2 separate regions of the Homo sapiens genome follow, and region 2 is linked to region 1. Evidence: promoter capture Hi-C in 16 types of primary human blood cells and fetal thymus (Javierre and others, 2016). All regions are on one chromosome and are shown on one strand. The core of a region is centred on a gene start or on the middle of the fragment in contact, and the rest is flanking DNA. Distances in the headings are between cores, read along the strand shown.

What was found. The method cuts DNA at HindIII sites, captures the fragments that hold promoters and counts their contacts. A CHiCAGO score of 5 or more calls a contact.
Region 2: a contact is called between a fragment that was not itself captured here and the fragment with the promoter of GABARAPL2 in region 1, in 1 of 17 cell types (non-activated CD4 T cells). The highest score is 5.4, in non-activated CD4 T cells.

What each region holds. Positions count from the first base shown.
Region 1 is chr16:75,564,491-75,567,933 of GRCh38, forward strand. It overlaps GABARAPL2 (GABA type A receptor associated protein like 2), which reads left to right and starts at 1,889. Exons shown (of 4, transcript NM_007285.7): 1 at 1,889-2,030; 2 at 2,362-2,417. The coding sequence starts at 1,997. RefSeq lists a silencer at 1,952-2,361 and an enhancer at 2,351-3,104. The HindIII fragment of the contact is 5,212 bases long and covers 1-3,294 here.
Region 2 is chr16:71,805,632-71,809,074 of GRCh38, forward strand. It overlaps AP1G1 (adaptor related protein complex 1 subunit gamma 1), which reads right to left and starts at 3,203. Exons shown (of 23, transcript NM_001128.6): 1 at 3,132-3,203. It overlaps LOC124903714 (a long non-coding RNA gene), which reads left to right and starts at 3,327. Exons shown (of 2, transcript XR_007065110.1): 1 at 3,327-3,443. RefSeq lists enhancers at 2,334-2,981, 2,925-3,443. The HindIII fragment of the contact is 1,723 bases long and covers 1,333-3,055 here.

The DNA of each region.
Region 1 (3,443 bases), core at 639-3,138:
CAGCACCTAGCACAGAGCTCTTGTATGTAACAATAATTTCTAAGTAGGAAATTCAAAGGATTTTTTCCACTTCATTAAAAACAAACAAACAGATGCAGTGGCTCACACCTGTAATCCTAGCACTTTGGGAGGCCGAGGCGGGCAAATCACTTACTTGAGGTGAGAAGTTCAAGACCAGCCTGGCGAACATGACAAAACCCCATCTCTACCAAAAATACAAAAATTAGCTGGGTGTGGTGGTGTGTCCCTGTAGTCCCAGCTACTCAGGAGGCTGAGGCAGCAGAATCGCTTGAACCCAGGAGGCAGACTGCAGTAAGCCAAGATTGTGCCACTGAACTCCAGCCTGGGTGACAGAGAAAGACCCTGTCTCCAAAAAACAAAAACAAAAACAAAGAAACAAAAAAACCTATTCTAGTTACTCAGACACACAGTCTTAAAATAACAAAAATACTTATAGAATGAAGCTAGATTCCACAGCATCGATCAGGAATTTCCAGTGTAGGAAATGATGAACTACCACATTCAAACATACAGGCTTTACAGGTGCATCAGAATCACAAGCACGTGGCAGGGTTCATGTGCCCAATTAAGTGAATATTCCTGCTACATGTTCAGCAGCTTATAAACAGATGGTGACCCAGACCAGACTGCCTTGATGAGTCTGCTTGGAAAAAAGGCATTACATCACTGATTGGAGAACCTCAAAGCATATGTCCGGGCAGGTGACACACACACAGCTCAGGCTGTGATTGCTAAACCACTCCCACAGCCAAATAAGGAAACCCATCTCATGACCAGCTCTCAGGGGAATTCTCCGAGTCTGACAGTCACCTCTAACTCCTCTGCCAGTTAAAATTAAGGGGTCTGTGATCAGTGATGTTACACTCCTCAAATGTGCATTTTTTTTTGAGGCGGAGTCTTGCTCTGTTGCCCAGGCTGGAGTGCAGTGGTGTGATCTCGGCTCACTGCCACCTCCACCTCCCTGGTTCAAACGATTCTCCTGCCTCAGCCTCCCGAGGAGCTGGGACTACAGGCGCCCACTACCATGCCTGGCTAATTTTTGTATTTTTAGTAGAGACGGGGTTTCACCATGTTGGCCAGGCTGGTCTTCAACTCCTGACCTCAGGTGATCCACCCGCGTCGGCCTCCCAAAGTGTTGGGATTACAGGCGTGAGCCACCGTACCCCGCCTCAAATGTGCATTTGTGATACCTTTTCGTAAATGTTTATTCAAATATTTATTCACGAATAAAGGAAGAAAACGGGATTTGTTTAAATTCAATTTCTAGGTCCAAGACAACCTACTACGGCTGTCCCTAATACGGACCTCCGGGTTGTCCTCAGTGCCGCTTCCAACAGTGTCCTCAAACACCCTCCCCTCCCATAATGAGCCCCCAACCTGTCACCACTCCGAGCAATACTCCCCAAACTGTCAACGCCCTAAACAGCTCCCTTGTTATCGCCAAGCTCTAGAAAGCCCTCCTTATGTCATTCTTACCCCTAAAGACCGTTCTTGTCACCAATTCCCCAGACTTCCCCTATGAACCGCTCTAAGAGCCCTCAGCTATCAGCCACACCCCCAAACAGCCCTCAGTAAGAGCCCTACACTATCAGCCAGACGTTTTCCGCCACCAACGCTCCCGAGACCCCACTCCTGTCACCAGTTCCCCGAACATTCCTGCGAGCAATGTCGCAGATACTGCTCACAGACGTCCCCATAACCAACTTCTTCGCCACCGCAGCCCAGGAGCCCCCAAAGGGGTCCTCCGCGGCCCCGCCCCTTTACGTGCGGCCCCGCCCCTTGGCGTGGCGCCCTGACAAATGGCGCCGGAAGCCCCGCCCCCGGCCGGTTGCTAGGCTCCGACAGCCGGAAGTCCCGCCTGCCGTGTAGTCGCCGCCGTCGCTGCCGCTGCCGCTGCCGCCGTCGTTGTTGTTGTGCTCGGTGCGCTGAGCTCCGCGGCTCCGCGAGCCGGTTCCGTCCCCTTCCCGCCGCCGCCATGAAGTGGATGTTCAAGGAGGACCACTCGCTGGGTAAGCACTTGGTCGTCGGCCCGGCTGCTGGGGGCTGGGGCGGCGGGTGGGCCCCCTCCCCCACTCGGGCGGCCCTGGGCCGAGTGGAGCGGGGCGGATGCCCTGCTGCGGGCTGGAGTCGCCCATGCCCTGGTGCCTCGGGCAGCGGCCCCCTGACCCCATGTCACCCTCCGCGGGCCTTGCTGGGAGCTAGTAGGGGACAGGACCGCGGCCCCGGGGACGCCGGAACCAGGGCCTGGGTTGTACGCAGGGCGCAGGAGGAGGAGGGCCGGGGGCCGGGAACCGACCGGTGGGCAGGCGCGGCCGTCAGCCCCGTTTGTTTCTCCCACAGAACACAGATGCGTGGAGTCCGCGAAGATTCGAGCGAAATATCCCGACAGGGTTCCGGTGAGTGGACTCTCCGCCCCCTCACCTCGCTGTCACCTCTGTCGTCTGGGACCCGTGATAGGCCCCAGGCCATTCAACAGTTGACAAGTTGAGGTTCCAGTCCCAGTTACAGTAGCTGACGGGCCAGACCGGGATGAGGCCGCCCAGGGCCGGGGCGTGAGGGGCTCGGGCTGGTGCTGTTCAGGGTGCCTCAGTGCTGAATCTCCCGATCTAGGCCAGCGAGCCGTCTGCAGCCTCGGGGCTCCCTGGCCAATTATGTAAGGAACGATGTTCTAGGACAGGGCAACAGGTCACTGCCACTTTTGGGAATGGTGGTGGAGGGAGACTGTCATTTTGGTCTTGGAAGTGGTACTTGAGTCTCAGGACGTTCATCTTTTACTTTGTCTCCATCTTTACCTAACTTCTAGCTCCGTTATCTCACCTTGACCCTGTCATCCTTGCCTGACCAAAATAATGTGAAAAGCCGCTGAAAACCCCTTCTGCCATATTTTCTTCTTAGTCAATAATAAATATAATGTTATATTTCTTCCATGGTTGGGGAGATAGTTTTGTAATCGTTATTAATTTTTAATGGACATTAAGGCCTGTTATTGTAGCTCTTTGCTTGTGAATAATTTGTCTGGGGAAAGGAGTAGGAGGGACGGATTTGAAACTTGTTCAGAGAGGAGCAACAGGCCAAATGAAGAACTTGGTTCTTGGCTGGCTAAAATTCCAGGCATTCCAATTAGTCCATCCATTCTTGTCTCCTGTGTTCCTTGGGAACACAGTAGTGTTTCCTGTAGTGTGAAGGTGGATCCATTCTGGGGTCCTGGAGTAACGGGCCATGGATGAAACCCTCCCCAGATATTCTTAGGTCTGCCCAGATAAAATGTGGAAAAGCTTAGTGGTAAGGGCTGCATTTCTCTTACATAATTGACCACAGAAAAGCACTTACTGTTTCCCTGTAACACATTTATATCAATTCTTAACCTCCAGAGCGTGTGGTTTATTAAGCCAAAGACATATTTTCTCCTGCTATGCAGTTCC
Region 2 (3,443 bases), core at 944-3,443, 3.8 Mb before region 1:
GATTAAGCATTGTGGAAAATCTGTTTTGGTATGTAGATTGCCAATTCAATTTTTTTAATTAAAAATAATATCTTGGAAAATACTCATTCAACTTTTTAAATTTGTATAAATTAAAAGTTTTGGCCAGGTGAGGTGGCTCACACCTGTAATCTCAGCACTTTGCGAGGCCGAGGCAAGAGGATTGCTTGAGCCCAGCCTGGGCAACATGACAAAACACTATCTATACAAAAAATACAAAAATTAGCCCTGCGTGGTAGCACACGCCTGTAGTCCCAGCTACGTGGAGGGCTGAGGCAGGAGGATCGCTTGAGTCCAGGAGGTCCAGGCTGCAGTGAGCTGAGACCACTGCACTCCAGCCTGGGCAACAGAGTGAGACCCTGTCTCAAACAATAAAAATAATAAAAAAAAAAAAAAAGAGTTTTTATAAATCATAAAGAAGTTGGTTTTGTTTGCATACCACTGATTTTTAAAACTCCTTTTTTAAATAAACACTGGGGTGAAATATCACCAAGGCATTCCTGGCAAATTCTGTACTTTAAAGTTTCACTCTAAAATCTGCCCTCAAATCTAGAACTGCTATCAATGACAGAGGTCAGACCAAAGAACAAGCAACTGCCCCCAAAAGAAAACGGAGGTTTCCTAAACGCAAAGCAGACATTCAAATATGCACTGATCAATGGTGCACTAAACAACACTTTGCTAGGAATTTGTTAAGGCAAAAGGACCCTTTCTACAGTGAATGCAAACTATCTAAGAATGAATTTTTAAAAGTTTAATATTTTTAAATATTTTGGTAGAGACGGAGTCTCATTAGGTTGCCCAGGCTGGCCTCCAACTCCTGGGCTCAAGGGATCCACCTTCCACCTCCCAAAGTGTTGGGATTACAAGCATGAGCCACTGAGCGCCCGCCTGAATGACATTTAAATACCAATATATTAAAGCATGAAAAACACTGAGTTAACTAACATCTATGTGATAGCTCTTCTAACACCTTACTTGAAAAGTCTAAGTCAGAAATGGAACATTTCAGTAGTAACTGCGAGGGCATACTTACTAAATGAGTGAGCATTACATAGGTGTTCAGTGTTTGACAGTTCCTTTAAACCAAAAGAGAAAATTCCATTGCTTCAGGGTAATACAGAACTCACGTATCTAATAGTAACTAATATATTTTTGAAAAATCTGCTTAAATAACAAGATCACTGAGTATTTAAACTGAAAATATTGTTTTCTTCTGAGACATCATATGACCTATAGAGGAATTTATCTACAATCTCATTTCAATAACCTGATAATAATAATGCATCTATAAGTGGCTTAGCAATATTAAAAAGCTTGACTCAATTCAAGTTATAAATTTAAACTTCAACCACTAGACTGTGATCTCAAATAAGTTAATTTCTCTTTTGCAGATGTGAAAACCCAGGCTGAGATGAAATAAGGGTGATTCAATCACACTCGCCTAACTTGAAACGTAGGAAATGTATCAGTGAATAACTGTGAAATACTTTTTGCCAGGCACGGTGGCTCACGCCTGTAATCCTAGCACTTTGGGAGGCCGAGGCGGGCGGATTACCTGAGCTCAGGAGTTCGAGATCTGCCTGGGCAACATGATGAAACCCCATCTCTACTAAAATACAACAACAAAAAATTAGCCGGGCGTGGCGGCGTGTGCCTGTAGTCCCAGCTACTTGGGAGGCTGAGGCAGGAGAACTGCTTGAACCCGGGAGGCGTAGGTTGCAGTGAGCCGAGACCGTGCCACTGCACTCCAGCCTGGAGACAGAGGGAGACTTCGTCTCAAAAAATAAATAAATAAAAATAAAGACATACTTTTTATTCAAGCATGCTAGACTGCAAACATGCCTTTAGAATAAAAGTGACGAGATTACGAGTACTTAGAGGGTTCATATTTTTCAAACGTGAAAGTTAGGGTGTGTGACAAGTTAGGTATTTGACAAGTATTCTAGGGAACGGTGGAAGTGAATATTTAAAATTCAGCTATCCCCAGAAAAACCCAATACATGAAATCATTACAAGTATTTTTTAGAATCAGTCAGCAAAGATCATTACTGTACAAACACTTCAAAGTTAAGGTCACTAAGAAAGCACTAACTCCTCCCTTCTGTTAACTAATCACTGTAAAGCAGCCCAACTCTCCTTTCTACCTACCTCAGATTAATATTTTTCTCCATGGACAGATTTCCGTGCTCAGGGATATATAATAGGGGAGAAAAAAAAATACCACACAAGTGTCAGTAAGCACCAAAAAGCTAAGTATTCAGCACAGGGAGGGAATCCACATATGAGAAAACATTTGACAGCTCTTGCCTCCCAAAAGCCATTTAATCTGCTTCATAAACATAATCTGCTTCATAAACATTACCCTGAGCGAGTGGTTCGATGGATCTCCTACACCGAGTCCTAACCGGGAAACACAATCAACCGAACCGTCCCGACTCTTTCAGGCAATCAGGAAGACCGGGAGAATTATTAGACGCTGACGTCCGCAGGGCCAGGAGCTGAGAAAAGGGTAAACAGTATACTCGCAGGTAGGTTGAAAAAAACAAAACAACAACATATACACACACACACGAAAAATTGGGAAAGAAGTTGGTCGGAAGGTTAGAGAGAGGCGAGGCCGATGTCCGGTTCCGAGAGGACGGCACTGCAGGGGCAGGCAGCGATTAACTGGGCATTTGGATATGCTGGGAGTTATCTGACAGACCTGACACGGGTACAAGACACAAGAACGCTGATACGTGGCTCAGAGAAGACACGCGGGGGTGGGGCCCGCCCCGCTAAACCCCAGGCTCCCTGAATGAGCCCTCAAAGATCGCAGCCTGAGAAAGTCAAGGGTTCAAGGAGGCCCGTACCGGCGGGGCAACGCCACAACACGGAACGCCGCGGCGCGCGGAACCTCCCGGTCCGAGGCCTCGGGGTCGGCCCTCCAGAAGTCGGAGCAGCCCCTGGGGCTCCCGGCCTCTCCTGGCCCAGCTTCTCTGTCTTCTCTTCTCAACACCCACAGCCTGGGACTGGACCCCTGAAACTGAAAGGAAGCTTCCGGTCGAGCGCCCGCGGCAGCGGCGGGGCAAAAGCAGCAATATGCTCTCAGCGCCGGGAGTGACACTCACCGGCCCGAAACCTCGAATGAAACCAGCAGCTCCGGGGGCGGCGGCAGCAGTGGCAGCAGGAACCGAACATCCAAAATGGCGGCTCCCTCGGCCTCACCACCGCTACCGCAGGCGGAGGGATCCTGAGGAAGGAGGGAGTTTTTAACTAACTTCACACACTATTGAGGAAACTTCGCTCCCTGTCCTCCTCTCCTGGTCGTTTCCGTGTCCTCGTACTGCAACTTATCGTGCCTTTTCTCTCGAATTATCCAAGAACTCGGACCCTGCCGAGGACTATTTGCCAAGGAGGAGGCGACTGCTCCTGGCAGAGCG